Regions from separate parts of the Homo sapiens genome. Here regions 2, 3 and 4 are each linked to region 1. The links are contacts of gene promoters, found by promoter capture Hi-C in human tissues and cell types (Jung and others, 2019). All regions are on one chromosome and are shown on one strand. Each heading gives the region's core, a stretch centred on a gene start or on the middle of the fragment in contact. The rest is flanking DNA. Distances are from core to core; before and after follow the strand shown. Region 1 holds the start of SIM2 (SIM bHLH transcription factor 2). Region 2 overlaps HLCS (holocarboxylase synthetase). Region 3 overlaps HLCS (holocarboxylase synthetase). Region 4 has its middle 88 kb from the start of SIM2.

What was found. The method cuts DNA at HindIII sites, captures the fragments that hold promoters and counts their contacts. A contact is called where the count stands out against the background at its distance.
Region 2: a contact is called between a fragment that was not itself captured here and the fragment with the promoter of SIM2 in region 1, in 3 of the 25 tissues and cell types used here (H1 embryonic stem cells, dorsolateral prefrontal cortex and stomach).
Region 3: a contact is called between a fragment that was not itself captured here and the fragment with the promoter of SIM2 in region 1, in 3 of the 25 tissues and cell types used here (IMR-90 fibroblasts, heart left ventricle and spleen).
Region 4: a fragment that was not itself captured here is called in contact with the fragment with the promoter of SIM2 in region 1 in 3 of the 25 tissues and cell types used here (IMR-90 fibroblasts, aorta and dorsolateral prefrontal cortex).

Annotation. Positions count from the first base shown.
Region 1 is chr21:36,696,477-36,701,742 of GRCh38, reverse strand. It overlaps SIM2 (SIM bHLH transcription factor 2), which reads right to left and starts at 2,628. Exons shown (of 11, transcript NM_005069.6): 1 at 1,822-2,628. The coding sequence starts at 1,996. LOC105369308 (a long non-coding RNA gene) reads left to right here and starts at 2,752. Exons shown (of 3, transcript NR_188246.1): 1 at 2,752-2,834. It overlaps LOC107985492 (a long non-coding RNA gene), which reads right to left and starts at 1,227. Exons shown (of 4, transcript XR_001755029.1): 1 at 1-1,227. RefSeq lists enhancers at 215-807, 808-1,401, 5,237-5,266. The HindIII fragment of the contact is 19,577 bases long and covers 1-5,266 here.
Region 2 is chr21:36,761,064-36,766,894 of GRCh38, reverse strand. It overlaps HLCS (holocarboxylase synthetase), which reads left to right. Exons shown (of 11, transcript NM_001352514.2): 8 at 1,723-1,883. Among named protein-coding and RNA genes, the nearest start is that of SIM2, 65 kb to the right of the region's middle. The HindIII fragment of the contact is 4,893 bases long and covers 43-4,935 here.
Region 3 is chr21:36,790,133-36,795,737 of GRCh38, reverse strand. All of the region lies in intron 6 of HLCS (holocarboxylase synthetase), which reads left to right. LOC105369305 (a long non-coding RNA gene) reads right to left here. Exons shown (of 2, transcript XR_937700.3): 1 at 1-5,605. Among named protein-coding and RNA genes, the nearest start is that of SIM2, 94 kb to the right of the region's middle. The HindIII fragment of the contact is 5,536 bases long and covers 1-5,183 here.
Region 4 is chr21:36,608,903-36,614,164 of GRCh38, reverse strand. No RefSeq gene overlaps it. Among named protein-coding and RNA genes, the nearest start is that of SIM2, 88 kb to the left of the region's middle. The HindIII fragment of the contact is 5,164 bases long and covers 1-4,590 here.

The DNA.
Region 1 (5,266 bases), core at 1,379-3,878:
AATCATCCCTAGTTCTCTGCCAAGGGGTCACCATTGAGCGGACAAGTAGCGACGACCTTGGGCAACAGCTCTCAGCTGGAGGGGCTGGGACTGGGGTATCTTTGCCACGTTCCGAGTAGGAAAGGGAGGAACCTGCCCTGGGCTGAAGGACCGCTGCGCCCGAGAGGAGAGCGCCCCGCGGCCGCGCGGTAGGGCCGGGTGGCACAGGAGAGGCCTAGGGTCCGCTTCCAGCCCCCTCCGCTGCCGGGTGCTCCCGGGTCAGCCCGCGCCTGGCTCCTGGGCCGGGGAGCCGCGGGGCTGGAGGCCGCGCTTGCAGACCAGCCCTCTGCGCTCCACCGGGGAGGGGCCGAGAAGCGCAGCTCCAGACCCAGCGGCCAGCACAAATAACAGGCTTGGCAGAGGCGAACGCAAAAGGTCGAGCTTTCCGATTTCGAGTAGAGTGCCTGGTGGGGATGGCGCTATGGAAGCGCCCTGCGGCCTAGGGACACCTGTCGCCTGCTCTGCCCCGACCGTCCGGCGCCCTGCGGCGGAAGTTGTCTCCCTACCTCGGCACTGGCTCCCGGGGCTCCAGAGGCCGGCGCAGCCCTCCCAGCTCCTGGGCCCAGAGGACCCACCAGAACCCTGAGCAGCGCGCCTCCCAGCAAAGAGTCAAATCCTTCGGGCCAGGCCGCAGCGACCCCGCTGGGAGCAGAGGCTCTGGAAGACGCGGCCCGGAACGCTTGGGACGCCAAAAACGCTCAGACCTGCTGCTCGGAGGTGCCTGGCCGGGCAGCCACTGTCACCAGCGGCAACCGGCGTGGGCGGCGGGGCAGCCCACCCAGCGCGCCACTATTTCTTCCTGTTCCGAGTCTTCCGCACCGCGGGTCCCAGCGCCCCTGGCCCACTGGCACATTTTCAATCCTGAAAAGAACGGCAGCGCTCAGCTCTGTCTGCCATTTTCGAATTAATCGGACCCCTCTCTTTCAGCCGGGTCTCAGCTCAGCAACGGCGGGGGCGGGTCTCTCCTGCCCGGACTTCCCGCACCCCAGCCTCACGAGAGGGCCCGGCTCAGCACAAGTGTTCGCTCTGTGGCCTCAGCCTGCAGTGCTTGGGCCTCACCGTGATCCCCGCTGACTCGCAGCGCCTGAAGCTGACCCTCCTTCACCTCCTCCAGAAGAGACAAAAAGAGGGAGGAATGAAGGAAAAATAAAGGGAATCGTAGAAAGAAAAGGAGGAAGGGAAGGAGGGATAAAGAAAGGAAGGGATGGGGAAAGAAAGAAAGCAAAACCAGAGTGAACTTCCAAAGAAAGGAAGGAAAGCAGAAAAGGAAAGAAAACAAACCAATGCATTGGCAAAGGAAGGAAGGAAGGAGGGAGGGAGAGAGGGGGCCAAGGAAGGAAGGAAGGGGAGAATGAAAGAAAGAGGAAGAAAGAAAGAAAAAGAAAGAGAAAGAAAGAAAGAAAGGAAAGAAAGAGAGAAAAAAATCCAAACCAAACCAGAATGCACTGGCGAAGGAAGGAAGGAGGAAAGGGAGAAAGAACAAAACCAGAAAGAACTCGCTGGCCGTGCGGGCTGGGGGACTGCCTGCCCCTGGAACAATTCGTAATTCGCCCTCACCCAGCCCTGGACCAGGAGAGGGTTTGGTCGCCTGGGCCGCCAAGGCCCTGGCCCCTCGCCCCAAGCCAGCGCCGAAGCCGAAGACCCTCACGCAACCTCCCTCAGACGCCCCAGCTCTGGACGCCAGGCCGCGGCAACCCCTCTGGGCGGGCTGGCTTGCGCTTCCCGCCTGGGCCGGGGCCGCCGGGCTCCCCAGCGTCCCCGGCCGCCCACCTGAGGCCTCACCTTCGGGGAAGACGGCGCGCATCTTCAGGTAGCTCGTGGTGAGGCGGATGATGGACGCTTTGTCCAGCTGCGAAGTGATGGCCGACGGCAGCGGGAGCAGCTTGGCAAGCTCGTAAAACTCGCCATTTTCCTTCTCCCTCCTGGTCTTGGCCGCATTCTTGGACTTCTCCTTCATCGCGCCTCGGCTCCGGGCATATTAGACCCGGCCGTGCTCCAGGCCCGCGGAGCCCCGCTCGGGCTGCGGCGGCGGGGATGGGGAAGGGGGAGCCGGGAGCCAGGTGAGTCCGCGGAGTGGGCCGCGGGCAGGTGCGGGGGGCCTCCCGGGGTTCCGAGACGCCTCCCCGCAGCCGCCGGGCCTGAGCTCCGAGCAACCCGGCGGCGCCGCCCGCCGCTGCCCGGAGCGCAGCCTCCTCCGGGCTGGACCGTCCTGCAGCAACCGGAGCCCCGTTCCTGCTCGCTCCTGTTTCCTCCCTCCTGCCTCTCCTGCCTCGGCCTTCCTGGGGGGTGGGGGCGGCCGGCGCGGAGGCGGAGGCGCTGCTTACTCCTTCGTCGAGTGCTCGAACCGGCTGCGGCAAGGCCCCTCCGGACCGGAGGGCGACAGGGGCGGCGGTGGCCGCGGAGCCATGGAGCGGGAGCCCAGCGGAGGGGAGCGAGTCGCAGGCGGCTGGGGCCGGGCCCTGGCCCGGGCGCGCTCTCCTGCCCTTCCTGGCGGCTCCCTGTGCCTGGAGACGCAGCGCCGGAGCCCGCGATGTGTGGCTAGGCGCAGCACCTCCGCTGTCCACGTGCGGCCGAGCCGCGTTTGTTTATGGCAGACCCGCCTTCGGGCGGAGCACTGGCCGCCTGGGTCCCGGAGGGGGGAGCGGGAGGGGGGAGGGACCGCGGCGGGGGCGGGGGCGGCGAATCTTGCCTCCGACCCCGCCGCGGCCCTGGAGTCACAGGCGCGCCTCCGCGTCGCTGCCTCCAGGGACTCTCCCGGGAGAGACCCGCGCGCTCCCGGGTTCGGGGAAGTCGCGGTGAGTGCACACGGCGCGCCGCGGGGACCCGCTCCTGAGCGCCGGTCGCCGGACCCCGGAGCTAGGATGGGCGGCAGGGAGGGCGAGGGAAGGAGGGGTGCCGAGGCCGCCCCTGTGGCTCTCGGGAAGGTCACCAGCAGGCGCGGCCGAGAGGAGGCGGCGCGACTCGTTGGCCAGGCGCCCTGCCGGGGAGGATCGAGCCTTCCGAGGGTGCGCTGGTCCCGCGTCCTCGCCCTCCCGGTGTTGCAGGTCCAAGAGCTGAAAAGGGGAAAGCCGGGAGCCCCCCTCCCCCCATTACACACACACGTGAAAACGGCGCGAGTGGCTCCGAAGTGACCCTTCTGCCCTTTCTGTCCTCGAAACACTAAGGTGCAAAGAGATTGTCGCCTTCTCAGGAGGAGCGGGAGGCCGCAGGGGCGCTCAGGCCAGGGGAAGGGAGGGGCCAGGGAGCCCAGCCGAGTGGTGAGGCCTCTCCCAGGGCGCCGGCGGAAACAGGGCCCAACTGCCGGGGCGGCGGCAAAAGCAGCCCGATTCAGCGCAGCCGGAATTTTGAGGAATCGGCGTTGGGCGATTAAGGGCCAAGGTCGCTGAGCCAGGGTCACAGGGTGGGCGCAGGTGGCGCAGGTGGGGCCCATGGTGATGGGGCAGAAGGCAATTGGAGAAAGAAGACTCCGTTGCAGACGCGGCCACTGGGCATTCTGGACTCTCCTTCAGGGTCATTTTGGACCTAAAGAGTCCTTTTGTCCCCCCTCTGCCCTCCCCTGTCCGGCTCCCGCAGCCTGGAAATGGGTGTGCGGCCCAGGAGTCCTCCGCGCACCCCTGCAGCGGCGGTCACATAACCCCACCTCTTCCAGGAGTGCAGCTTTCCCGGCCCCCCAGGCCAGAGACAGGCTCAGAGGACGCAGGGCAATTCCTTACCTTGGCGTCGAGATCATGTGGGGACTCTCGGCCGTGTGCCACAGGCTGCAGAGCCGTGGAGCAGTGGGGTGCGTGACCTGGAGGTCAGCAGGGGCCGGGAGGACACCGGGCCGCGGATGGGGGCGCGGAGATTTGGGTTCTCGGTGTCACTGCTCTCGCCACTGGCCCGGGATCATGAGCCTGCTGCTCCGAAAACTCGCCGTCGGACAGCGACTGAGTATCCGCTTCCCTCCCCTGGCCCTCCCCTGCGCCAGGAAGGCCTGGCCTTCGGCAACCGTGCCTGCAGCAGGCGCTCCTGACCTTTTCCAGGGACTCCTTTGAAGGTCAAAAGTTCGAAGGCGTTCGAAGCCGAGCAGGCTCCCTCCAGGGGCTGGAAGGTGTGCGCAAACCCGGGCTCTCCCCCTGCCTGTCCCTAGCCCCTTGCGGAGTCCACATCGTGGCCAGGGCTCGCAGGCTTGGTGCTCCGAAACCGCGACGCCACGCGAGCCGGACGCACAGAGTAACAGCGCTTTCCTTTGGGGTTTCGGATCCAGGAGCGCTTTCCTGTTGCAGCGGCTTGAGCAGAGGGCCATGGGCTAGCGGCGCGGGTCTCCAATGCCCAAGCCTGGCGAGTCGGACCCACCTCCGCGCCCAGGATCCCGCTCCTGGCTGCGCTGACAGCTGCCGGCTCCGGGCCTCTGGGAGAAGGAGCTCCAAGGGGTTAGAGGCTACGGACCCAGCCCCTGCCGCAGCTTCCGCAGGCGGCCCCCTGAGCCCGCTCTGGCACCTCCTGGGCTTCGGGAGGATTTAATGCGTTTCTCACCCCCACGGCTTCCGACCCTCAATTATGGACCCGGGAGAATTCCTCCTGGGCTTGAAAGGGATTACCCAGATCGCAGAAACATGGCTAAGTGGAAGTGGGAGAAACCCGACAAGTAACAAGAACGGAAACTTTCCTCAAGGCAAATTTCCCGGATTTTACGGGAAAGCGCACTTATCTTCCCAGGGACAGCCTCTGTTCACGTGTCCGCGAGGCAGGTTCGAAGCGCGCTACGGGAGGCAGAGCAATGCCGTGTTTGAAGACTGGAAGATACGTGGGTGTGAGATACCTCCAGGCCCAACGCCTGCCCAGCAGCTGCCCAAGCAGACGTTGTGTACTCGGCTCCCCCAAGCACATCCTTTCGCCGTACACGCGCGCGCGCGCACACACACACACACATCCACACACACACGCAGCTGTGGCTCTGGGGTCCCTGATGGCACCACGCAAAGTACCAGAAGTACACGGGCACCGCACCTCGAGGTTTCCCAGGTAGGAAGGACAGGGATGCCTCTGTGGAATTGTGAAGGAAGAAACCCAACCCTTGGTGGGGGCCGTCCCGGAGCTCTCCCTGCTGGAGGGGGAGCCTCGGGCCCTCGGAAAAGGACACTTAGAGCTAATACCCACAGGCCGTATGTGGGATAGTTAGTATGAAGCTGGAAGCTCTGTTGGAATGGAAAAGTACCGGGCAGGTGCTCACTAGAGTGGTCAGGAG
Region 2 (5,831 bases), core at 1,240-3,739, 65 kb before region 1:
CCTGAAGGTTCTCCATAAGGAGCCTTCTGTGTCTGTACTGAGCGTCATGTGGGAGGCCTTTTGCATGCCAGTTCTCACCCCAGCTGGCCCTGGGCTGGGCTTGCATGTACATGGTGGGCTCTGCATCAGTGCCCATTCACACAGTGACCACAGAGAAGCAGAGCGCTGCCCAGGGCTCCACCACCTGCAGATCCCGGAGACGAGAGCCCACATCCTCCCAGACCCATCTGGGGTCTGACCCTGTACAGGGGCTGCTCCACGGGGCTTGGCCCCTCCCTGCTCCAGCCAGTGCCAGGCTCACCCACATGTGCTTCTCACTCTCACAGCCTCTTATGACTTTTTCATAAGAACCAAAGAAATAAGAAATCTGCTGTTCTCCACTTCTTTCTCCTGAACCATGTCTTTCAAATATAATTCAAATGGAAAAAAAAAATGTTTTTGTCAAAAGCTATGGATCTCAATATGTGGATTTTTTTTTTGTTTTTTGAAAAAGACATTCAAGAAGAACTTTGATGAACTCTACCTCTCATTTGGATTCTTCTATTTTTCTAACTTCAATTTTAAGAAAAGTAGGCCAGGCATAGTGGCTCATGCCTATAATCCCACCACTTTGAGAGGCCAAGGCAGAAGATCACTTGAGCCCAGGAGTTCAAGACCAGCTGGGACAACTTAGCAAGACCCATCTCTTAAAAAAAATACAAAAATCAGCCGGGCATGGTGGTACTCACCTGTAGTCCCAACTACTTGGGAGCCTGAGGTGGGAGCATCACTTGAGCCCAGTGAGCTGTAATCACGCCACTGCATTCCAGCCTAGGCAACAGAGCAAGACCCTGTCTCAAAAATAAAAAGGAAGAAAGAAAGGAAGTAAAGAAAAATAACAACTCAGTTAATATCAGGAATCCCTTTTTAAACAGCTTTATTGAAATATAATTCCTCCATTTAAAGTGTGGCTGGGCGTGGTGGCTCATGCCTGTAATCCCAACACTTTGGGAGGCCGAGGCGGGCAGATAACTTGAAGTCAGGAGTTCAAGACCAGCCTGACCAACATGGTGAAACCCTGTCTCTACTAAAAATACAAAACTTACCTGGGAATGGTGGCGGGCACCTTAATCCCAGTTACTTGGGAGGCTGAGGCAGGAGAATCACTTGAACCCAGGAGGCAGAGGTTGCAGTGAGCTGAGATCACACGCACTGCACTCCAACCTGGGTGGCATAGTGAGACTCCATCTTAAAAAATAATAATAAAAATAAATAAAGTACACAGTTCTGTGGCTCTTATTTAATGGCATATTTGCTGGGCTGAGCAACCATCGCCACAATAGGAATTGCTTCTAAACAGTGGCTTCCAGGACCTCTCATGGATCAGTATAGATTCAGTTCAGTTTCCCAATGTCTGTGTTTGCCTTCATGACCATATGCTGGGAATTAAACCTATAGTCATATAGTCATGTTCAGACGCTGTAAGACTCTGAGTCATCAAGGCACAAATGATATGCTCACAGAAGCAGAACATTATGCTAATTATTGGAAACTTTTTCAGCAACAGAGCTTCAGATTTTAAAAAGCTTTTCTTTTATTAAGCCCAGAATATAATAAGCGTTGTAATACAATAAGCATTGTAATAAGTTCAGATTTATTTGAGTGTGTGGCCCTGGCATGACGTGTGTCTGCGTCTGTCCACGTGGCAAGGTAGCATGTTTCCCACTGTGGCCTGTGTTCCAGGACGGGGAGGGAATGTGTGGCTGAGCCCTGTGGGATGTGCTCTTTCTACTCTGCTCATCTCCATTCCACTGAGATCCCAGCTGGGACAGAGGATCCCGTTTGTCCAGCATCTGATGTCCGTGGCTGTCGTGGAAGCAGTGAGGTCCATTCCCGAGTATCAGGTAGGTACAGTTCAGTCTCCTTCTATGTCCCTGGGATGCATGCAGAATCTGGCTTATTCTTGTTTATAGCATGTGCTTGCATAATTGGTGGCTGTAGAACCTCAGCCTACCCTTTGCACAGCTGGCAGCAAAGTGCTCTCGGAGTTTTCAGAGCACCACCAGGTGCTAATGCTGCTTCAGGCTTGCCTGAATGCATTCATTCCCCAGAACTCCCTTTCTACCCAGTTTTTCAGATTTCTCAAACAGCCTGATGAGGGCAACGCTTTAGTTTTTGGTTTTTGTTGTTGTTTATTTATTTATTTTAATTGAGACAGGGTCTCACTCTGTCACCCACGCTGGAGTGCAGTGGCACTATCTCGGCTCACTGCAACCTCCACCTTCCAGTCTTAAGCAATCCTCACACCTCAGCCTCCCGAGTAGCTGGGACCATAGGTACACACCACCACCCCTGGCTCTTTTGTTGTATTTTTAGTAGAGATGGGGTTTCACCATGTGGCCCAGGCTGGTCTTGAAGTCCTGAGCTCAAGCAGTCTGCCTGCTTCAGCTTCCCAAAGTTCTGGGATTATAGGCATGAGCCACTGCACCTGGTCATGTTTACTTATGTATTTATTTTTTTGAGACAGAGTCTCACTTTGTCACCAAGCTGGAGTGCAGTGGCGCCATCTCGGCTCACTGCAATCTCCGCCTCCAGGGTTCAAGCAATTCCCCTGCCTCAGCCTCCTGAGTAGCTGGGACTACAGGTGTGCACCATCACACACAGCTAGTTTTTGTGTTGTTAGTAGAGATGGAGTTTCACCATGTTGGCCAGGATGGTCTCAATCTCTTGACCTTGTGATCCGCCCGCCTCAGCCTCCCAAAGTGTTGGGATTACAGGCGTGAGCCACCACGCCCAGCTGCATGTTTGTTTTTTGTTTGAAGCACTGGATGAGATTTGATTGTTGGACTGGATTGAAGTTGTTCATCTGCATTTTCTGTTGAAAAGGGTTATTTGGGGACCTAAAAACCTTTCTCATTTCCTACTTCTGTTTACCAGACTCTGTGCTCTAACAGAACTATCCTTTATCCACTGTTGACCACATACAATGTGCAGATCCACTTGGGGCCATCTTCCCCCAGCTATTAGGACCCGTGTGCCTGCTTCCTTATTACTGTTGGATGTTTTGTTGTCAGTTATTAAAAAGACAAGCAACAGGGAACAATTAGCTCAGTGACCGAAGCATTTTCTTCCCTACTTGGGCTTCACTTCCCATAGCCCCCTCCCAAATGTTCCTGGAAGAATTTCATATGGGTATAAATAGGAGATTCCTGCCTCCCTCCCCCAGCAGCTCCTATGTCAGGCTAAAGAGAAATGATTGGATTGATTCCTGAAGCAAGATGTTAAGAGCGTGACTCTCAAAGGAGACTTGGAGGTCCTGTCATCATTTCATTGAAGAAAAGGTCCTTCTCACTGCCCCTTAAATCCCTCTGTGATGTATTTGCTGTGTATGAATTTTTGGTATTCCACAGATGTAGTTAATGCTGACGTCTCTGTTTCCTGTATTACATCACATCGCTGAAACGGACGCTTACTACCAGGCACCCAGCATCCTTGCATATCTGATGGTTTGGGGGCATCACACCATTACAGGGCTTCAGGTGCCCGGCCTTGAGCACCTGAGCTGTGCATTCTGTCTAGCAGGAAGCAATCAAAATAGAAAGTCCTGGCCAGGCGCGGTGGCTCATGCCTGTAATCCCAGCACTTTGGGAGGTTGAGGAGGGCAGGAGTTTGAGACCAGCCTGGCCAACATGGTGAAACCCCATCTCTACTAAAAACACAAAAAGTAGCCAGACATGGTGATGGGTGCCTGTAATCTCAGCTACTCGGGAGGCTGAGGCACAAGAATCGCTTGAACTCGGGAGGCAGAGGTTGCGGTGAGCCGAGATTGTGCCATTGCACTCCAGCCTGGACGACAGAGTGAGACTCGTATCAAAAAAAGGAAGAAAGAAAGTCCTGTCATGGGAGAAATTAACTCTAGCAACAAGTTAGTCTTAGGAAAATAACTAAAACAAACACTAAGCCGAGAACATTAAATGAGTCTGTTTGGTCTGTTTAGCTTTTTCATGGCTCTGACTTTGACCTTGGAGCCCCACTAGTTCCCTTAGCGAGCATTCTTTGAGGGCCTGCTGTGCTCAGAGGCTGCGTGCGCCAGGCGCTGGAGGCCAGGATGGAAGTGGGAAGCTTGCCTTCAGCGGTGAACGGGGTCGGGGGAATTTGTGTTCCCGTTCTCCTTAAGAAGCTTGTACCAATGTTCTTTCCCTCTTCTGCAGTCAGCTACCCAGCCTCACCTGTGTGATGGGACATTTGATTTTGAATTGGGTTTCTTTTTTAACATAGTCAAGTTAGCTGACACAGTGCAGCTACTTTGATTGAAATAGGCCCCTGTTGTTTGGATTTCACTTTTTGTGTGGCCTTCACTAGGACCCCAACTGGTCCCTAACCAGATGTCACCGTCAGCACACAAATCATGACCACCCTCCCCAGACCCAAGGCGGCCTCGCTGGGATGCAGGCATTCCTTCCGGAACTCGCCTTGGGCCGCCCATTCTCACTCCTGCTCTTTCTTCTGTCCATGAAGTCCCCCCGGGCCCCGCACCCTCCCTCCACCCACACACCCCTACCCCTGCTCTCTTCTCTGCTTCTTAAAATTCTGTTCATCCTTAAGGCCCAGCTCCAGTGCCATTCTCAGACCCTCCAGCTACTTCCAGCTCTTTCCTCCAGCACTGTCCAGCACTTGCCATGTTGAAGCCTCTTTTAGGGTATCCACCACGTGTGGCTTTGAAGAGGAGTGATGTGTGCACCTGTTCCGTCTCCCATGATGTTAGCAGCTCTTCAAAAGCAGGATTTGTTTCATTTTGGTCTTTTTTTATGTGGGAGGATCACAGCAGCTGTTGGAATAAATGATTGAGAAAATGAAAAATGAGCACACAGTCCTCCTCTTCATGTGGAAATGCTGGTCCTGTTTACCTGCGTGAGAACCCAGAGTTTCATGAGCTGCTTCATGAGCCGAGGAGATCTGAAGCCATGAAGGCGAGCTGGAGCCCAAGTGCAGGGCCCGCCCAGGCACCAGCTGCCACGCACGTGGCGGAGGAGCTTGACAGCTCTGGGAACTCTGCAGGTGTCCTCCCGCCGGCGAGGCAGGGGCTCATTCCCCTGGCCATGTGGTGGGCACAGGGGGATGTGGGAAGGCGAGAGAGGGGAAGGAAAGGGAACTGGGGGCAGTGATGAAGAGCAGAGCCTCCTAGACACAGGTTTCCTAGAGGAGACTTTCTCAGCCCAGTGCTATTGATATGTGGGCCCTGGCATGTTTGTCGTGGGGATGTCCTGTGCCTTAAAGGATGTGTGTCAGCATTGCGGCCTCTACTCTCTAGACGCCGGTAGCACTCCCTCAGGCTGTGACAACCAGGGAAGTCTCCCAGTATCGCCAAATCCACCCCTCTCCCACTGAGAACCCCCGTTCTAGAGAGAAAAGAAACGTGAAGCTGTTGATCAGTTCTGGGTCATTGCGCACCCCCCATGCTTGGTTTACTTAGACTTTTTGTTCTCCTGTGCTCCTATTCCTGTATTTTTTCTCTCAGCCTAAACTACTGTTTTAGGGCAGATGAGCTTCCAATATGCTCTAACGGGCCGAAGTCAAAAGAAGGCCTGTTGGAAGGAGGAAGGGATTTCATGGAAGCAACAGGCCGCGTAGCATAGGATTCCTCACCCAGGCCTGGTGGCAGAAAGGTTTGAATTTTAGCTCCGTGGCTTTCAAGTGCTATAACCTCAGGCAAGCCACATAATTTCTCTAAGCTTCCGTTTCTCCCTCTGTTCCCTGGGGATGCGCTAGCACCAACACATAGGCTGGGTGTGAGTAACACGTAGACTAATGCTGAGAAGGTGCTTGGTGCCATGCCCGGCCTGCAACGTGGG
Region 3 (5,605 bases), core at 1,166-3,665, 94 kb before region 1:
GAAACAGAGCTTGTCCACAGTTAGTAATAACTTACTCCCTAAGGCAGGATGTCTCAGGCTATGACAGGACAGGGTTGGACTGCTTGGGGCCTTCAGACATCTGTCTCTCAGGGAATACTAATTTTGCATATTTCTTGAGCTGTAAAGGAGTCATGGCCCCAAATTTCTGGTTTCTGTTAGAAATATAACTATTTGTCAAATGTTTATAAAATGACTACCGTATGCTAGGCAGAGTATGGAGCATAGCAACTATGAAATCTGTTTCAGTAGCTTGGTCCAGAACCCTCAGTATTTGGAAAGTTGCATATTGTCATCATTTACTCCCATTTTGATTATATTAAGAAAGTATGTGAGGGCATGAGCCTCTCAGGAGGGGACCTCAGTGTTTCCGGATCCCTCCTGCCCTCTGTGGGACCTAGATGCTGGCTAGCTGAGCACCGTCAATGTGTCCTCGCAGAAGACGAAGCGCATTTCCTTTCTTCTCTTTTTTGCGGTTCCAGTGTGATGACATGGCTTGGTCACCATGCTTCGTGTTTGCTAAAAAGAAACCAGGGATATGAGTTTCTGAATTCTCAACCTGGTGCCTTTGCCAGAGAACAAAGTCAGGTTAATCAGACGTCTTCCCCTCTCCAGCCCAACTCATTCGCTGGCTGACCTCTCCTGGTCCCATGGTTCTAAGAACCATCTCCACGATAATGATTCCCAAATGAATATCCTAGCCCAGACCTCTCCCTCCCACTCCAGACTTCTGCTTGGATTCCGTGGGCTGTCTCATAGGCATCTTATGCTTGCTACATCTAAGTCCAGCACCAGATTCCACCCTCCAGCCTGCTCAGCCCTTGCCTCCTGCTTTTGGGAAACGGCACATCGCTTTTTCCTTGAGTTGTGTGTGCCAGAAGTCGTGAACTCACCCTTGACTCCATCTTCCTTTCAGGAGCTCAGTTCATCATCAGGTCCTCTTTGTTCCACTTTCAAAATGTGCAGAACACATCTCTTTCTTCCTTCCACCAGGCTGTTTTCCATGTGGCAGCCAGGTGAATTCCTTTAAAATGTAACTTAGTTATCTCATCCCTGTTAGCTTAGAAAGGCTCAGTGTTGCTTCCTACTTCATTCAGTAAAAAATCCAGAGTTCTTACTATGACCTGCACACTTCCAAATCTGTCCCCCAACCAGCATAACCCTTATTCCTATTCCCCCCAACCCCATACGCACAGAGTGTGCTTCAGCCACGTCGGTCACCTTTTTGTTCCTCTCCAATCCCACTGAGGGCCTTTGGCCTTGCCGCTGCCTCTGCCTGGAATAGTCCTCTGTCACATGTCTTCATGGTATGCTCTCACTATCTTCTTTCTGAACAAATGCCTTATTGCAGCAGCCTTCAGGGACCACTTGAACACCCCATCCTTTGTCCTTCCTTGTACCCCTTATCTGCTGTATTTTGTTTTCACTGCATTGACACATTATGCATTTATGTCTCTCTCCCACCGCCTTGCACACACATACTAGAATGCCAGCTCCCTGGGTGCAGAGACAGAGCATTTGTTCACAGAAACAACCCCAGAGCCTGGAGAGGGCCTGGCACAAAGTTGCCGAATCATCTGTATCCTCATGGGTTTGCTCCCAGGAGCTCAGAGATCGCCTCTTTGGAAAAGTTGCGGCAGGGAGGCCAGAATGAGCCAAGCGTAACCCAGTCACACCCGTAGCTCGTCCTTAGTAGAAGCTAAGAATCCAGGGCAGGTCTGAAAGCACATTCACAGGGTGCTCTGAGGCTTCTAAACAGCTGTCCACATAGGCACTAACTTGGTATATCCTCCTGACAACCCTATGACTGAAGCAGCATCTTCATGAGAGATGCTTTCGATGGGAGAGGTTAAGTAACTTGTCTGAGGTCTCTTGGCCGTAAAGGGACAATATTGCACCAGCAGCCACATGCCTGACCATTTATGTAGCTTCTGACTAGCACTAAATTTCTTTAAGGTCTGATTTATCTCTAACATGCTTGTAAATTTTGCATAATTTTTACTCCATAATTCTGGTACATGTTTGTTTTAATATAAAAATAACAGTTGATCCTACCAGCTTACTCACTCCACTTTTTTGCTTCTTGGGCTAAAAGTGACACACCAATAAGATTGCATCCTGGCTGGGCGCGGTGGCTCACACCTGTAACCCCAGCACTTTGGGAGGCCGAGGCGGGTGGATCACAAGGTCCGGAGTTCAAGACCAGCCTGGCCAACATGGAGAAACTCTGTCTCTACTAAAAATACAAAAATTATTTGGGCATGGTGGTGCATGCCTGTAATCCCAGCTACTTGGGAGGCTGAGGAAGGAGAATTGCTTGAACTGGGGCCCAGGAGGCAGAGGTAGAAGTGAGCCAAGATTGCGCCACTGCACTCCAGCCTGGGCAACAGAGCGAGACTCTATCTCAAAAAAAAAAAAAAAAAAGACTGCTTCCTGCTGTCCCGTGTTCTCCGAGCCCTCCGACAGGCACACACCTGTGGATGATCTTAGAACTCATGTAAGCAGCGGGGGTCGTAGAGAAAATGAATCGGTACCTAAGGCAATGTGCAGAAGTGAATGGAGCAATAGAAAGAAGAATTATTTGATGTAAACTAAAGATCTCAACAACTCGAATCAGGTTATTTAATCAGGAATCAAAAGCGCATGAGGGGTTCAAGTCCAACTGCAAAGCTTGGGGTTCTGGAGGACCACAGATGCAGCTGCCCCCAAGGATGCTGAGCATGTGACTACACATGCAAATGAAAGGGAAACAAAACCAAATGGATGGGGTGATGGGCAGAGTTAAGGTCTAGACAGCATTTTGAGATCTTTGCTGTCCTCACCATGAGTCACTCTAGAAAGCCTGGGGGTCACATGACTGAGGGGACACAGCCCTTTCCCCAGAGCCTCTCCCTGCATCCTCTCGTTCTTGCCCCTGGCTGCTGGCTCAGGAGGCACCACGTGTTGTAACAGCTCTGTGGTTCTGGAGTGAGACACAGGTTGTTGGCTTCGTTACTTGGGGATGAATGTTTGTCATAGGTACTGGGCATGCCTCTTGACAGCCATGTGACCCTGGATGAGTAACTTCAGTTCTCTGAGCAGGTGCCTCATCTACAAATGGGGATTGTCATTGCTCCCATCAGTCTAAGGAGGAAATGAAATCATAAGTAGCAGCTCACTCTGGACTGACGTAGCACAATTGGCTGATGATCATGGTCGTCCTCCTCCTCCCCCCGCTCCCTTCCCTTCCATCCCTTCCCTCCCCCTCTCCCTTCCCTCCCCCCCTTCTCCTTTTCTTGTCATCATCAGGGTAAATCGAAGGAAAGAGCCATTTTTGCAGGTCTAAACGGTTGAATGTTAGGGATTTCACATGGTTCCACCTGCTACTTCTGCTCTGACCACTGATAACAGTGACACACAGATGGCAGCCGTCCCTGGTCACACAGATGCCAAAGTGAGCTCATTCTCCTGCTGTGTGACAGAAGAAAAGGCTGACGGTCCCCAGAGCGTAGCGCTGGGAGCCTGCGGGGTAGCCGCCGGGTGATTTACCAGGGTCCCCTTCTAGGTTTCACTATTGGCACCTGGTTAATGGGAAGGGGATTTAGGGACCCGGTGCTGAGATGGTCTTTTACTGTTCTTCAGAGCAAAGTCCTGTGAACGCTGACAGGTAGCGCACTCACCTTCTAGGTTTGAAAGCTCGCTTGTTCCTGTCTGTGTGGCTGGCCCACACCTAACTGCCATGAGGTTTTTTTCCGCTGCCTTTCTGATGGCTTCACAGTGGGAAACCTGCTGTGTCCATCCCAGCCAGCCCTTTCTTTGTGAAAGTGGTAAGAAGATAACCCCATTCTAACTTGGTTGTTCTTTTTTCCTTTCCTTTTGCAAAGAGTGCTTTTGCCGGGGGTGGGGTGGGAGGCTGCAAGGGTTTTGGAGCCATGGAAACTTAATCCTTGTGTGTCCAGCAAACAGGCCCCTTGGAGCAGCCGCATTCCATGCAGCCCCGTGGCACCCGCTTCCGTGGCCCTCGAGGGCCCACCCTCGAGGGTGCTCGGCATTCTGTCTGAGCCCCAGCCTGCCTGTCTGCCATATTCCCCATCACCCCCTATTTCTCTCACATGGTACTAACCCACCTAGAGTAGGTTACATTTAATGGGGTGAGAAAAATCCACACCGTAAGAGAAAAGTCGCAGGTGAGGTCAAACTGCTTCCTCCCAGGAGGGAAAATGATTTTTTCTCCTCTCTGGCTCCCACACTGAAAATTCATACAAAAGGGCTCTTTTTATGTTTGATGTATTGCCTTTAAAAAACAAACCTTTCATGTTTTTTCATTTTTGGTTCATACCTCTTGGCCGACCCAGCAGGAACTTGGCAGTTGGTGAGCAGCTTCTCGCAAATGCTGAAAGCGGTCTCACTGAACAGTCACCGCTGCCCAGAGCCCTGGATGTGTGGGTTGGTGTGTACTCGGCTCCGGCAGGGGTGGGGGTCTGCATGTTGTTGCCCCGGACATCCTATGTGGGGTTTCCTTATGCGATTCTTGCTACTTGGTATGTATTTGAATTGTTTTTACAACAGAGGACGCTTCTTAGGGTTACCTGAGGCACGGTGAGCAGGTTTTATTTTGGACAAGCCTATATGTTGCTGTTTTTTTCTATTATGATTCATGTCCCCAAAGATCTCTGCTGAGGCATATTTAGCCAACTTTAAATACAAGCAAGCTCAAACAAAGGCACCCCTGCATCTATCATTTCATTTTCTTCTGTTTACAAAGCACATTGTCCTACACCCAGGTTCTTTGCCAACACCACTGCCAAATCAACACAGATGGACAAAATGGTGGACGGAATGGCTTAAGAACATTTTGCTGACTTCCTCATTTTTTTTCCACGGAGAGAACACCACAGTTCTGCCATCAGCTGCTCCCAGAACCTGAAGTGCTCTGCAGGCTGACAGAAACACTGCCCTGCCAGAGTGGTTAATAGCAGCTTCTGACCTGCCTTCCTGGGCAGACAGCCTCCTGCCTGTCTGAGCCTTCACAGCCCAGATTGGAGCATTCCTGCGTCCGTTTGCGTTTTTCTCCATGGATGATCAAAAGCATAAGATCGTGGGAAAGGCAGCCATTGAGCCACGGAAGCGTAAGATCATGGGAAAGGCAGCCAGATACAGAATATGTCTATGTGGTTGTTTCCTGTCTTCAATCTGAATGAAGAGCCAAGGAAACACCATAGGTCCCACTTCCTAATCCTCCATGATTTTGGTGTGTTTGTTGGCTGTTTTCACCCTCTACATCAGCCAACAAACACACACACCAAAATGTTTTTTTGTTTGTTTGTTTGTTTGTTTTGAGATGGGGTCCCACTCCATCGCCAGGCTGGAGTGCAGTCGCACGATCTCAGCTCACTGTAACCTTCACCTCCTGGGTTCAAGCAATTCTCCTGCCTCAGCCTCCTGAGTAGCTGGGATTACAGGTGCACCCCACCACACCCAGCTAATTTTTGTATTTTTAGTAGAGACAGGGTTTCACCATGTTGGCTAGGATGGTCTTGATCTCCTGACCTCGTGATGGGCCCACCTTGGCCTCCCAAAGTGCTGGGATTATAGGCATGAGCCACTG
Region 4 (5,262 bases), core at 759-3,258, 87 kb after region 1:
ACACAGAATCTGCTTCCACCTTGATCTTTTTTATTTTTATTTTTTGAGACAAGGTCTCACTTTGTCACCCAGGCTGGAATGCAGTGGTACAAATACAGCTCACTGTGGTCTCAACTTCCCAGGCTCAAGCAATTCTTCCACCTCAGCCCACTGAGTACCTGGGACTACAGGTGCATGCCACTATGCCCAGTGAATTAAAAAACATTTTTTTTTTAGAGATGGGGTCTCACTGTGTTGCCCAGGCTGGTTTCAAACTCCTGGGCTCAAGTGTTCCTCCTGCCACAGCCTCCCAAAATGCTGGGATTACAGGCATGAGACACCACGCCCAGCCCATCTTGATCTTGAGTTTCTTAGCCTACAGAACTTGAGCAACAAATTTCCATTGTTTATAAATTGCATCATCTGTGGCATTTTGTTATAGCAGCACAAACAGACTAAGTCACCCGCACAGAGATATCCATGTGTTAAAGTCGCTTAGCACAATGCCCTGCCCCCAGAGCTCCAAACATGGGGAGTCCTTTTTAGAAAGAAGTCACCACCCTATGATTTCATTCCTTTTTCTGTTTTGTTTTATGAGGTACTATTACATATTTTGTTACACAAACAAAACACAACAGTAAATTAAGCCCCTCGACCTGGGGACATAGAGCGCCTCCAGAACCCAGGCTCCTGTAGTCTTGTGGGCAGCCCACATGCGGTTGAACTTGGGTGCACCCACCTCTTTCACAGCTGCAGCCACGGCTCTACTCAATTCCCCTTCACCGCCAATCTGTCCTCACCAATCAGCCCTCTCCCCCCGAATCACACTCTTCCTCAAACTCAGTTTATTTGGCTTTGCCAGTACAGGAACTAAGTCAACAAGAGGGCTGGCGTGCAGTATGTCCTGTCAAACGGGCGGCTGCTAAATGAGAACACGTAATCCAAACATGCATCTCCGCAGTGAGTGCACAGCATGATCCTCCAACATTCCTTTGCGATTAGGGGTCATTGTGCTTCCCCACATTCGGGTCAGAAGATTCTACCCAGGAGGGAAGACCTGGGACAGGCACCAGGATCATGCATTTTGGGCTCCTGGAGGCACTGGATATCTCTGTGACAGGCACCAGGATCATGCATTTTGGGCTCCTCGAGGCACTGGATATCTCTGCTCACCTTTCTCAAGAAGAAGCCAAGGTCTGCAAAATGCCCGGAATGGAAATGATTGAAACTGACATGAGCTACTTCCCACTGGAGAGAACGCCCTGCTGCTCCATGTGAAAGACTGGGCCATGGGCAGGCTCACCATCTACACCCGGAATAAAAGCAGGAAGGAGGATGAGTGGTCAGGCATTATCTCCACACCAGACGGGAGAGCATTTATCTTCTCCTTTCTCTCATCTGTCCAACGCTGAGGGTTGTTTGGGCAGGGAACAGAGGGCACGTCAGGAAACGGCAGCAACAACCAGGCCAGCAGAATTGCCTGCATGGCCACGAACTGCCACTGAGTCCCAGCACAGCCTGGTTTGGCCTGAGAATTAGTAAATTCAGCCCTCCCTGACAGATACAGCCAAAGGTTTATTTATAAAATCGAAGTAAAAGAATGACATTTGGGTATTTTAATAAACCATGGGAAATCGAGAGTTCAAGTGGTCCACAGAAGGAAAAAATTAAAAGGCAGTGTGCCTCAATGTTGAATGAAATAATATAATATAATATAATATAATATAAAATACTAAGACCATTCGGGTGTTGGGGTGGATCAGAGCAGAGGACCCCCTCCCCCGCCCCACACTGTGCCACAGACAAGGACAATGACATAAAAGTTTATCCAAATCCTTGAGATAGTGCACTTTTGCCCATGCAAAACATTTCTTCTGCATCATTTACACAATGACATCAGATTTCCTTGTCGTTAGGAAGAAACAAAAACACTATATATTAGTTGTAATTTTGAGGTCAAAAGGAAATTTTTGGACAGATATTTAATGGTATTCAATTATTAGAAACGTCTGTTTGTAAAATAAGGTAATCATCTTCAAAGATCACTCTAAAATAAAAAAGAGGATTTAAAATATTTTTTCACATTTACAGCAAAACATCTTTAACCAAATAAGAAGCCGAATCAGCTTTTCATAATTATGTTTTTAAGTTAGCTGCCTCCAACCCTTTCTGGAACTAGGCAGGGCATAATAAATACGACCTATTTTGAAGCTAAATCTGGAAAATCTGACAGGAAGCCTGCTGGGTGGGACCTGGACCGCCATAGGTGTTCAGCAGAGGACCTAGTGATGGTTGTGTCTGTGTGGCATGCAAAGAGCAGTTTGCAAATTTGAAAAAGATGAAAAAGCAGAGTGAAGATGAACCCATCCAATCCACCATTTGCTTTCAGTCTTCCAAGACCCTGATTGCACCTCTCTGGATTCCACTCAGATCAGACGACATCCAGGAAAACCCAAAGCCAGTTTGTTCATCGAACACCTCACAGGTGCAGCCAGGAATGCATTCTCGGGCCAGATCGGTCGAATTCATTCTCTTGAAAACGAAGCCCCCTCCTCTTCCTTAAACTACCCTCCACCAGAGTCCCACTGTGGCCCTCTCTGTCATGTTCTCTTGGGTGGGTAAGGGACATCTCTGCTTGGCCCTTGCCTTATGTGTGAAATTCTGCTGGAGAGTAGCCAGGACTAACCTCACTCTGTATCACTAAAAGTCGCAGGGAGGAGAGTCCGTGGCAGATGGGAGAGGCTGTGGATGGGATTAGTTACAGGTAGAATGCAGATTGCAATCATCTGCATGTTTTTCAGGCAAGGCCGAAAGCTGGAACACCCATCCATGGATAAGCGGTTATAAACAATGATCAGTGAAGGAAAGGGGATGGTTTCATCCTGATAAATGCATGGCACATAAGGAAACAATGGAAGTGAGTGCTTGGAATTTTGCAGATAGAATCCAGTACATTTTCGTCTACTCAACCCACGCTTTCCTGCCAAAGAGCTATAGCCCATGCCCATCCAACAAAAACACATCTGAGAACACACTGGACACCTTTTAAACCCATGAAGGAGACAAGAAAGTTGGTGCATTAAGGCTTATAACAAACGTCGGGTCTGTGGAACCATTAATAAAAACCTAATTGCCTTCAGCGTGGATTTGTCCCACTGTCTTACTCTGAGTTGAAAAATCTAATAAAAGAAAATATAGCCCTAAACGTGCAGACCATGTTACCTACCGTTACCTACAGTCCTAAAGGTTTCTTTTGTCAGGAAGCCCCAGGGAGTTCACAAAAATAAATGAAACCTAGGGGGAAATTAAGCTTGAGAGAAAGTTATTGAGGAGATGGGATATGGTAAGAACGTTCTATGTGGCAGTCAGGAATGCTAGGTTGACAGATGTAGCTAATTCTGAAAGAATAACTTCCTATTTGAATAACAAGTAAAAGGTGTTTAAAGAGAGAAAGGTTATAGTTTACTTCAGCAGGTACAGCTTCTGGGGAGTGTTACATAAATATTGTTTAAAAGCAATGTGTTGTTTTCCTTCACTTTGACAGGTAGAAAGAACACAAGACCATTAGCGTCTTTCCTCCTTGGCTGGTGTGTTACAGGAATCAGGCTCTCCCAGGCACGTCTGCTATATTCAGGGGAAATCAGGAATTTAGGTTTTATATTTTTTATTTAAAAATGGGAGGCATGCTTGTTAGTTTGACATTTGGTTTGGCTTTGAACTTTTCAGAGTTTTAAAAGACAAATATTGGCTTGCTAGTGTTTATTGTACACTGAGCTTGATATGTTCTTTGGGGCCAGATCACATAAGATGAGTCATTTTCCTGGACAAGTCCTGGAGCAACAGTTCATAAGGAATATTTCTGTAGCTTCTTAAAGGGCAGTTTATTAGCCAGAAATAGTTAGGGCAAGATTCAAGTGGCACAGTCTTTTAATACTAATAAGAATAATCATAATAGTAGTAATAATAAGCAACTGTAGGAGTAGTGTCTCAGTTATCTGTTGCTGTGTAACAAACAACTCCAACAATTCATACCTTAAAACAACAATCATTTTATTATAGCCCCCAATTTTGTGCTGTGAATTTGGGAAGGGCTCAGTTGGGCAATTCTTCTGTTGCACATGGTGTTGATGGATGGAGGTCATTGCTGGTACCAGTTGGTTAGGCTGGAGGGACTGTGATGTCTGGCACCTTGATGGGGATAGCTAGAAGGCTGGGCTCAGCTAGGACTGTGGAGCAGAATGCTCCATCTTACTTGCCCAGTATGGAGGTCTCAGGGTAGCACTCCAAGAGCAAGTGTTCCCATAAACAAGGAAGGAGAGGTATGCCCTTTTATGACCCAGCCTCAAAGTCACATTCCTATATCCCAGTGGTCAAGGCAGTTAGAGTCCACACAGATTCAAGGGACAGGAACATAGATTTACTCTCCCCTCCATCCCCCCCACCTGAAAAGAAAGAAGTGCAAAAGGATTTTTAACCCATTTGAAAAACTACCACAAGTGTTATAGTAATAGCTAACATTGATTGAATGTTTCCCATGTGCCAGGCAAACTCTGTGAACTTTACTTGTATTAAGTTACTTAATTCTTCAACAATCCTATGAAATAGGTATAATATTCTCCTTTTTATTGACAAAAAAACTGAAGAACAGAGTGGGGAGCTGGGCAATTATCAAGAGAATGTGATTGATGGAGACAAGCAATTGGGAATAATTAGGTCAAAGGTCCCTCTGTTTCCTGGAGCACCAGTTGGCCATGGTCGAGTTTCTGCCAGAATCACCTGGAGCTCTGTAGGCCCCACAGTGTGGGAGGAGTGAACTGGGGTGGGGGAGGTCCCCCTAGACCCACTTGGCCCAGGCTAGAGCTTGCACATATATTTGTTCAAGGAATAAATAATAAGGAATAAATGAATGAATAATGTGTCTAACACACACAATCTGCTTGGTTGGTAAGATTTGGCTAACTGGGAAATTAATTGTTTTCATGAGCACTCTGGCGAATGTCTGGGTTCCTCACCTTCTTCCTGGCCAATAGAATCTCCATTCTGTTTCAGTGTTGGGCAAGCCCAGGGGAGGGTCTTCTCTAGCCCCAGGGGATGAATCACAGCAGGGGGATCCTGGGCCTCCTTGCCAGTCATTGGTCTAGTGGTGAGGATATGACCTAGTTCTGGATCAACAGACCAAGGAGAACATGCTGGAATTTCTGGGGAAGATGTTCTTCCCTAACAAAAGGTGGCCATAGGGTAACCAACTTGTCCCAGTTAACTTGGGACTTTCTAGTAACCCCT